Linked DNA regions of Homo sapiens: region 1 is linked to region 2. Evidence: promoter capture Hi-C in 16 types of primary human blood cells and fetal thymus (Javierre and others, 2016). All regions are on one chromosome and are shown on one strand. The core of a region is centred on a gene start or on the middle of the fragment in contact, and the rest is flanking DNA. Distances in the headings are between cores, read along the strand shown.

Region 1 (4,963 bases), core at 1,666-4,165, 510 kb after region 2:
CTTTTGTCTCTGCTAAAATATCTTATTTTGCTTTATTTCCTTTTTTTTTCTTCATTTGTCTGTTTCCTGATGTCAAAACTTCACCTGTTTGGTCCCTTTTTCTCTTTATTCCTTTGTTCTTCTCTCTCTCTCTCACTTTTTTTTTAAATGGTCACAATATACAACTAAATAAAATGTTACGCTTCCGAGTCATGATTTTAAAAAAGGAGTGAATTGAACCTTTCATATTTTCTTAAGTTCTTTCTATAGTGGTTTCTTTTATGGTTTACTCCTGTTACTAGCATACTGTTCTTCCCCACAGTCCTTCCAGCTGTCATCAGTGACCCTCAGTGGCTCTCAGTACCCCGGGTCTACACTTAACAGAGACCAATGATTAGGAAATTCATAAATTCAAATCATTATTTACATATCTGTTGTCAAGGATAGGGTTTAATACACATATCCATTCTTGATCAGTATCTTCATAAAAACTTTTGCTGATACAGTTCTTAGCAAAGCATAGGCCTTAACTTAATATGATTATTCTTTAAAATAGAACTGCTTGAAGAATTCTGTTATAAATTTTCTTACAGCTTTTTCATTTTTGTACCTTCGTTTAGTAACACTCATTTATTACCATTGGGGTCATATCTTAGCTGCATTAATGGAATTTCTGGTTTTAACATTGAGTTTGTTATCTATTGCAGAAGAAGAAGTGCTTATATTTACAACTTTTCAATTTATAATTCAACTATGTAGTTGGAATGTATACTTAGAGTACATTGAGGAAAGTTTTCTTCTCTTTTCTAAAGCTAAAACAAATTTCAAACATATACAAAAGTATATAGCTGCAACTGTTAATCAATATTTGCAAATTTTAGAAGAAGCTTTTCTTAACTTGTTTCATTTTTCAATGCCCTTGGTGTAACAATAGCTCCTCAGTGTATTTCTGTGTGTTTGGTATGATGATATAGTGAAGAATATTGTTATATTTTATTAGATATACATATATTATTAAATATCAACATAAGTTGAAAATGACACGTGTGTAGTGATTGAGATAAACAATGAAAGCCATTTATTTTATTAAATTGGAAAAAAGGGTTTACTTTTACCAACTTTGTGAATATTACTTGGCAGATTTTTAATCCTGGGCTAGTTTTATCCAGCTGCTATATATTGAGACAATGTGTTTAGGTTTTAATGATAGTCTATCCCATACATAATGCTGGTTATTGTCTGCCCTTATTCCACTTGCCTTCAGTTAGTCCACAATACTGCTGTTGGTTTGGTAATTTCTTTGCTGTATTGCCCCTAGAATAGAGTCCAGACTCCTTTCATGGCATCCAAGTCCCTTCATAAGCTGTCTTCAAACTGCCTTTGAGGCTTCATCTCCACCATGCCGTGCCGTGCACCAGCCCCACTGGACTTCTCACCTTTCCACTGACTGTGCTGCACCCTTCAACTTTGCCATTCCTGTGTGCTTTTTCTGTGAAGGCTTCCCTCATGCCAGTGTTTATCTTCCTTCCTGTGTTCTCTTAGCGTTTTGTGCTTTCATCTCTTAAACATGACCATGGCCTTATATATTTACGTATACATGTCTCTCTCCCTTGTTTCGACCTACCTGGGATAAGTGCTTTGTATAGCTTTTTATTTTTGTATTCTCAGACTTCTAAGTCTGTCTAGCCACCAAATTGAATTTACTAATCACTGGGATATTAGCTGTAAGATCATTGCAGCCTTTTAACTTGTGACCCTAAAATAGGAAACCTTTAATATTTTGATTTAAGGAATTGATTTTAATTGTTTTAGAAACCACTCAAGAAGGTTATTATTGAAGAAACTGGTAATTTGATACAGACTATTGATGTGCCAGATAGCACTACTGCTGCTGCTCCAGAGAATAATCCTATTAATCTAGCAAATGTAATAGCAGCCACAGGCACCACAAGTAAGAAGAATTCAAGCCAAGATGACCTTTTTCCCACAAGTGATACTCCAAGAGCAAAAGTATTGAAAATAGAAGAAGTCAGTGATACTTCATCCCTGCAGTGAGTAGAAATACTGTTATTTGCTGATCATCCAGAATGGGTTAATTCCAATGGAGAATTGATATTACTGAGACTTCTGATTTGTACTCATCATGCTAATTTTTTGAACTGCCTAACTTAAGTTTCTAGCTTTTCTTTTTTGTTTGTACTTATTGTAAGGGTGATTTTGCTTAAAGAATGATTACTATTTTTTTTTTAACCACAGTGTGAAATTTAAAGATAAGAAGGTATCTTGAAAATTGATTTTGTTTAAAAATTTTCATTTCTAGGATTTCAGTTTTATTATTTAGTTCAGCAAAATTTTAGTTTTTTAAAAGGAAGCTTCATAAAAATGTAGAATTTATGGATTGCCATTATTTCATCCATTAGTATTTAAGACTGTTGTGGACTCTAACTTTTGTTTGGCATTTAAAAAATAGTTTATGTGTTTTTTCTTGATAATGAGAATATAGAAGATATAGACTAATTAGGTTCATTTTGAGGTATGGAAACCTTACTCATATATTTTTACATTGCCACTCAACAAACCTGCTAAAAGTTGTTTTTTTCTTTTAAACTTTGAACTTTAGTAGTACTTTTATTTAAAGTGATAGTATAGATCATGGGACAATACTATATAGGCAGTTTTTTTTGGAAGAAGCATTTCTTCCTTTTTGGAATATCTTGAAAATGATCATTTAGATCTTTGAAAGGCTAAATCATTAGTGTATGTGACATGGTAATTGAAATATATAGAAATGGTATACTCAAAAGGTGGATAGGTTAGCTGCCCAGCAGAGGAGAATAGTCATTACATAGCCAGCATGTGAAAATTTGCAAGAGCATAATCTGTTTTGCCAAAAAATGTTTATATATTATTAGCTGAAATAATTGAATGCTTGTATAATACAAATAGATAATACAATATTAATAGTCAAAAATTTAAAAATTTTTATTGATGTCTCCTTGATTGAGCTATGATTATTTATGGTTCTTTTCTGTTTGATACCTCTGAAATATTTCAGACCTCAAGCCAGTTTGAAGCAGGATGTATGTCAGTCTTACAGCGAGAAAATGCCCATAGAGATAGAACAAAAACCTGCTCAGTTTGCCACAACTGTTCTTCCTCCAATTCCTGCAAACTCGTTCCAGCTCGAATCTGATTTCAGACAATTGAAAAGTTCTCCAGATATGTTGTATCAGTATTTAAAGGTAAGAGAGAGGAAGGTAGTACTTCTGTTGTAAGTAAAAGGTCAGAGAACTTCTGTCACTTTATAATAATGGTGCCGTATTTGCTTTTTATAGGATATTATTGTAGAAATTATTGTAGAATACATCACCCTGGTCAGACCATTTAAAAATATTTACAACCAGGGAACCTTGATGTTCTCCTTTGGCAATAGATTCTATGTCAAATTCTATTGTCTCAAATAACGTAATCTAATTTCATATATATTAGCTTAAGCTTAATCCTTCAAAAAAAACCCTAAAATACATTGAGTGTCTTCTGTGTGCCAAGCAGTGCTTGCAATATGTAGGCAATCATTCTTCTAATATTTGCTTTAAGAAAAAGAATCAAATCCCATGAAATTTAGCAAATAATGAATTAGCATGGTCCTTTTCAAGTGTAATGAGAGTAACATTTCCTAATAATTATGCAATATAAAATTACTTCCAAATACGTTTTCTCATGTAATTCTACTTTTAAAAATCTCTAGTTATATTTATTGCTCTTTGAGAGCCTTTAAAGTTTCCTGTCTCTCTTAGGATGGTGTATATCTCTTCTGCTCATAAGATTTTTCTGTGACTAGAATAGAGTGATTATCATGCAGTTCCTGTAACTTTCATTCTTCTATCATAATTGCATTTTAATGTGACTCCATTATTATTCATAAGTGCTAATGCATAGTAGTTATTCTTTTCTTTTTGTTTTGGACGGAGTTTTGCTCTTGTTGCCCAGGCTGGAGTGCAATGACGCAATCTCAGCTCACCGCAACCTCTGCCTCCCAGGTTCAAGCAATTCTCCTGCCTCAGTCTCCGAGTAGCTGGGATTACAGGGATGTGCCACCATGCCCGGCTAATTTTTTGTATTTTTAGTGGAGATGGGGTTTCTCCATGTTGGTCAGACTGGTCTCGAACTCCCAACCTCAGGTGATCCTCCCACCTTGGCCTCCCAAAGTAGTTATTCTTTACTATTTTTACCCAAGCAATTGTTGTGTAATTTGTGATATGTAAGTGTTGCCATCAAGTAATTGTCTTTTTATTTTTTTTTCAAGCAAATTGAACCATCTTTGTATCCTAAGTTGTTTCAGAAAAATCTGGATCCAGATGTATTCAACCAGATCGTTAAAATTCTGCATGACTTTTACATTGAGTAAGTCAAGTTTTTTTTAGTTATACAGTAAGTCCTCACTTAATGTTATTGATAGGTTTTTGGAAACTGCAATTTTAATTAAAATGATTAAGACATAGGAACATAAGTCTTGTTTATGTCAATTGGCCTATGGTAAAATTGGTTTGTTTATACAGTATGCCGTTTTACATAAAGTCACAGTTTTCCTGAACCTATTGATGATGTTAAGTGAGAATTTACTGTACTCTTATGATGCTATGCTATTTCCAATGATTTGGGAAGTTGATTCTCTTTGAATGTATATAGCAAATTAGCAGCATATAGCAAAGTTAGCTTTCTTGTAAGTTTCATTGTTAGAGAAGTTGCAAGGAAATGACAAGTACAGACAATAAAAAGGGAAAAGTTTAAAAGGGAGGAAAAAGGACTCTAATTTTTTTGTAGAGAAAAGTAGGGTATGGAAATGACCAGTGTTTTCACAGAATAATAGTTTCCGTACTAAGCTCTCATTTAAGAATATTGTAATTTCTTCAGTTGACTTGATAAATCTCTTCATTTGGGCATTTAAAATACAGGTATCCAGGGGAAAAAATGATGTCATTTA
Region 2 (5,554 bases), core at 187-2,686:
GGTCCTAGGTAAGTCCTTTTTCAGAATAGAAAAAGCAGAATTTTATTTACACAATTCACGGGTTCTCCTGTTGTCTGGGAAGGGGGAAAGGACAGGATAGGGATGGATGGGAGTCCAGAGATGGGCGCTTCCTCTCCCGGAGCCTCACCTTTCCGCAGTTCGCTATAATTCGCTTAGTTGGGCAGAAAGAATTCTCGATGCTCCCAAAGTCCTTCACCCTACAAATCCTTCCTCGAGGGAGTCTCTCTCTGCCTGACCCACAAGAGCAGCTGTCCAAGTGAAGCATGCCGCACCGCGCCGTTCAGTCCCCCTCGCGTCATGCACTCGGAAACCCAAAGACAGCCCGGGAAGGTAGTGCCCCACGGAGTCCCCTCACAGGGAGGCCTCGCCCTCCAGTTGCAGCAGGGTAATGTCGGGCATGTCGAGGGGCTCCACAAGTGGCCCGTCCCCCCCAAGGAGACCAGCACAGGGGCTTTCGGGGCGCTCACAGTGACTGGAGGGTGTGGCGGGGCTGGGCATCTCCTTCTCTTCTTCCTCTTCCTCCTCGTCCTCGGGATCGCGACCCAGCAAGCCGCTGTCCCCGATCCCAGGCGAAGGAGTCTCCGGCTCTTGGGGGTCGCTCTGGAAGCTCCCCTTGCCGCCGACCACGCCCAAGCCGCCCTGGCGGGGCGCAGTGGTCATAATCTGGCACATGGAGACGATGGCTCGCTGGTTGGCGCACACGTCGTCCGAGAGCACCTGGATGTGCGAGGCCTGCTCGTCCAGGGCCCCCCTCATGGCCCTCACGTCCTCAAACAGGGCTTGCAGCTGGGCTTTCAGGTGCTCCATCAGTTCCTTCATGCCGCCGTTGTACTCCCCGGAGATCACGTCCCCCACTGCCGGCACGGTGGACACCTCCAGGGGCGCCGGCATGTCGCCGCCGTCCTTGGTCATGATCTCCAGCAGACCGTCCTCCATTGAGTGGCAGAAGCGGGTGGCGGAGGCTCTGGGTCGCGTCCAGCCCGGCCTCCGGGGTGGGGGAGGGGGTGGAGGGGGAGAGGTCCCGGGAGGGGCTAGCGGGAGCCGAGGGAAGCGGAGGCTCCCGAGACTGGCGGGGAGCCGACGTGAGAGACGAGTCCTGGGCAGAGGGCGCAGGCAGGATCGCGGGAGGCCGAGAAGAGGCTGCGGGACGAGGACCCGGCGAGGGTCCCAGAGCCGGCGTCTCTTGGGATCGCCCCGGGACGAAAGTGCCCTGCCCTGCCTCGCCTCCCGGATCGCGCCCGTGTCAGCGCCGCCCTCTGGGCGCCACAAGCAGAGAGCGCCTGCCGGTTCCGTGGGTCACAGACGCGCTCGCGGAGGGGTCCGCGTCCAGGCTGAGGCCAGCGGCGCGTCGGACTCGGGACTCCCCCAGGCCATTACCGGGCAGCGCCCGCGAGTGTGGCAGCAGCAGCTGGGGTGGGTCTCCCGGGGGTGTCGCGGATGCTCCTCTGTTTCCAAGGCGACGCACGGCACGTAAATGACGTGTGTCTCCATGGTAACCAGGAAGTGGCGAAGAAAAAGGGAGGATGGCTGGAAGCTGCAGTGGGGCTCTGGAGTCTGGACTAGCGGGGTGGGGGGAGGAGAGGGGACGCTACAGTGGCTTCGGCCAAGGCTGGAAAGAGCGTGTGGTCGCAATGTTTAATAGGGAAGTATGAGAGAGCCGTCTGCTGCAGAAACCTCCAAGTCCGGGAGAGATCGTCCCTCCCCTAGCCGGGGTATGAGACCCAGCGAGACTGCCCTGGAAAGATTTTTCCAGCCCGCATTCCTTTCTCAGAGGATGGCGCTAAAGTCGAGTCCTGCCTCCCTGTCCTCCAGCGATGCGCAGGAAAGCGGAGAGGGTAGAGAGGCTGTTGCTAATGATCCCAGAGTTGAGCTGGGGCACGGTGGCGCTCTGGAGCCGGACCCACCGGGCCTGACGGTGCAGAGGCAGGAGGAGGGCGCTACGGAGGTTTCTGCAGTAAATCAGCCCTCTAGCTATAGAAATCACCGGAGCGGGGGAAGGATGGGACTCCCTCCTTTATGAGACCCTACCGCTCCTACGCAGGTCTCTGGGAGTTTGTCCCAGATGGGGAGGCCAAGTGCTTAAGTTTTGAGAATGAAAGCTCCATAAGGGGAGAGATTTTTGTCTCCCCTGCACCCTCCATCACGGAATCCCCAGCTCCTAAAATAGTGCCTGGCACCTAGTATGTAGATGCTTAATATAGTTATTGAATGAATAACAAAAACCACCAAGTCCCACGCTCTCATCCAGAACTCCCCAAGCCAAACGTAGTGGGTTTTAGGAGACCTGAATTCAGTTTCGTTTCTGCCACTTATTCATTCAGCGACCTTGGCCACATCATTTTCCTCATCTGTTAGGGAATTGGACTGGATAATCTATAATACTATTTCTAATTCTGAATAACAGTCTGCATCATCTCACAGGTGAAAAGGTAAACTGTTGACCGTTGTGTGGAGGGTATGGATGGGGGGACTGTGTGTTAGAGTAATTCCCGCTCTCTCTTTCAGTGCCCAAGTTCAGACATACACTGAGTATCCCCAACCTTTGTGACAAGCCCTTTCCCTATTTAAGGGGTGGAGCAGGAAGGGTGGAGGAAGAAGAAAAATTGTCTTTAATATACGTAGATGATTGCAGATTGAGAAGGAATCAGCACCTGGGCAGAGCACAATAATTAATAATGACCCTAGGAAATTAGGGAAGCCAAGTGATCGGAAGCCAAAAATGAAGTTCATAAGAATAAATCTGGGAAAGAGAAACAAACTATATCACTTCAAGATAGAGAAGAACTACGTAAAGGTGAGTGTTTTGTAGACTGGCGGTTCAGTGACAGCAAATGTGTTACCTTTGGGTTTCCCTGGTTATGTGCTTGGTGATGAAGAGTGAGGCTGGCCCAGGGAAAGTTTTGTGACACTAGAGGACTGCTTGACCTATACCAATCTTACTGCTTTTAAAATAGAAACAAGTGGGGACTATCCTAAATGACCAGCAGCAGAATGTTTAAATAAACTAAGGCAAAATTGCTGATACATAAAGTATTATGCAGCCATTAAAAATTTGATTTCCCAAAACAAATATATGAACAAATTTTAAAAACACAGTATTGTATTTTCTGAAACTAATGATTCAATTCTATTTGCTTGCTCATTTCTTCCTTCATTCTACAGATTTCCAGCACTCTCACCTTGCTTAGGACTCCTACCTCTGCTCTGTACCCCACACGTGGTAATAACACCTTAGATTACTCCTGAAACTCTGGCTCAAGAGAGGACAGAAATGCTTTTCCTTGGTTTCCATAAGCACAGCTGAAGTGGGCTGGTGTTTACAAAGAGACTTTATTAAAAACTATAGGAAAACTAGAAATAGAAACAGAACACATGAAAACAGCTGAGCTTACACAGCATAAGTTTCTGATTATACTACAGCAAGCATGTTCTCAGGGCTTATAGGTCCAACCCTGCTTTCATCCTTCCGAGGAGAGCTCTGCTATAGCCAGAAAAGACTGGCATGGCTTTCAGACTTTCTGTCTAGGTCTGTTACTTTACATCTCTTGACAAGCACTTCACATGGAAGATTTCATCTTGCCAATTCACCCTTCAGGTATATCCCTACCTTCTACCTACAAAGAGTGACTCTGTCCCAGTGGGGGACCTCTCATTGTTGAAATCCCATAAGCTTACACTAAGCATAGCCCCCATACAGGAGGAGCTATGGTATGTCATCATACAAGGCCTTTTGCCACTATTCTTGAGGATGTGAAGGCTTTCAGCATAAGATTACATCATGCTGTCCAGAGGTGCTGGCCATGAAGTCCACTGAGAGTACAAGGGATCTGAGCCCAGAGGGAGGGGAAATTATTGGAGAAGCACAAAAGGCCATGGGAAACATGTGCAGAGATCAAGCAGTTTGGCTGGTCCAGTCAAGTTCCAGGTCAAACATTTGAGAGCCAAGGGTAGGTGGGAACTGGGGGAGTGGACCAGTAGCAGGATTTGAAAATATAGGAAGGTGGCTGGGTGCGGTGGCTCATGCCTGTAATCCCAGCATTGTGGGAGGCTGAGGTGGGTGGATCACTTAAGATCAGTAGTTTGAGATCAGCCTGGTCAACATGGTGAAGCCCTGTCTGTACTAAAAACACAAAAATTAGCTGGGCATGGTGGTGGGCACCTGTAATCCCAGCTACTCCAGAGGCTGAGGCAGGACAGTCGCTCAAACCCAGGAGGCAGAGGTTGCAGTGAGCCAAGATTGTGCCACTGCACTCCAGCCTGGGTGACAGAGCAAGACTTAGTCGAAAGAAAGAAAGAGAGAGAGAGAGAGAGAGAAAAGAAAGAAAGAAAAAGAAAGAAAGAAAAAGAAAGAAAAGAAAGAAAGAAAGAAAGAAAAGAAAGAAGGAAAGAAAGAAAGAGAAAGAAAGGGAAAGGGAAGGGGAAGGGGAAGGAAAAGAAAAGAAAAGAGAAAAGAAAAGAAAAAGAAAATATAGGAAGGAGACATTGGTGCATCTGATAGAAAACCAGATCATTTCAGGAACTCTGTGTGAAAATGAGATGAGGTAGAAAAGTCTAGTCTCAGGAAAATAAGGAGAATAAGGAGAACAGAGGCAGAGCCTCAGTCAGCTAGATGGGTTACAGGCCTGGGCCCTCTGGATCCCAATGCCCTATAGTTAGTTGCATGGGTCCATTTCCAAGCAAAAGGTGGCCAGATGTATACCCCAGCCATCCTACTAGAATATTCAGAGGAACTGCCACATAATAAGAGAATATAACCCCCGCACAGCTTCTGCTTCCTGCTTTTCTATTATCCTCTGGGAATCCCCTTAGCTATTCTCTTCATCCCACTCTTATCAATCTGTGATAGGGAGAGACCCTCATGCTATCTACATATAGGTTTCCATCAGGTACACCTAGTTTCAAACCTCATATTCTCACTAAAATTGGGATTTGGAAGAGGCTCTGCCATTTTCCTCTGTCTGGTGTCTCGTGTATCTCTAGTTTCTATTTTCTATAGCTGGTGTATTTTTTGCACTATAAATCCGATGATGCTGGCTAGACTCAGGTCTAGAGCAATGATTTAAAACAAGATATAGCTGACTGCTGTACCTTAGGCGCCAAATCCCAGACAGTATCCCCCAAATATAACTTTCATGAAGCTGACCTGTTTTGTGGCCCATCACAGCTTGATATCACACTCAAACATATCCAATAGCCAAAAGAATTAAAAAGAAATTTAGATTTTTATTACAGTCTCTGGGCAAACTTTAAAGGGGTTTACATTCTTAGTGCACAGCGAAACATCTGAAACTTGTCTTCCTTCCTTCTCTATTTGTTCCACACATTATGGCATAGCTGTTGCTGCTGGTCTCTCTCTCCCCAAACACTCCCACACTTTCTCTCAAGCCTGGCCCTTGCTTTCTCACTCCCTGGCTCTCTTCACTTCTTGGATGTATTCTTTTTCTCTCCTCCAAGAAGCTTCCTGTCCTCACATAAATCAGGCCAAGCTTATTTTAGCTCTTTTGATTCTGTTCCTCATTCCCCCAATCTGCAT

What was found. The method cuts DNA at HindIII sites, captures the fragments that hold promoters and counts their contacts. A CHiCAGO score of 5 or more calls a contact.
Region 1: a contact is called between a fragment that was not itself captured here and the fragment with the promoter of CCDC184 in region 2, in 1 of 17 cell types (erythroblasts). The highest score is 5.6, in erythroblasts.

Annotation. Positions count from the first base shown.
Region 1 is chr12:47,667,174-47,672,136 of GRCh38, reverse strand. It overlaps RPAP3 (RNA polymerase II associated protein 3), which reads left to right. Exons shown (of 17, transcript NM_024604.3): 13 at 1,792-2,030; 14 at 3,035-3,221; 15 at 4,286-4,383. Among named protein-coding and RNA genes, the nearest start is that of RPAP3, 36 kb to the left of the region's middle. The HindIII fragment of the contact is 1,123 bases long and covers 2,354-3,476 here.
Region 2 is chr12:48,179,526-48,185,079 of GRCh38, reverse strand. It overlaps CCDC184 (coiled-coil domain containing 184), which reads right to left and starts at 1,436. Exons shown (of 1, transcript NM_001013635.4): 1 at 1-1,436. The coding sequence starts at 957. The coding sequence ends at 373. The HindIII fragment of the contact is 3,853 bases long and covers 1-3,693 here.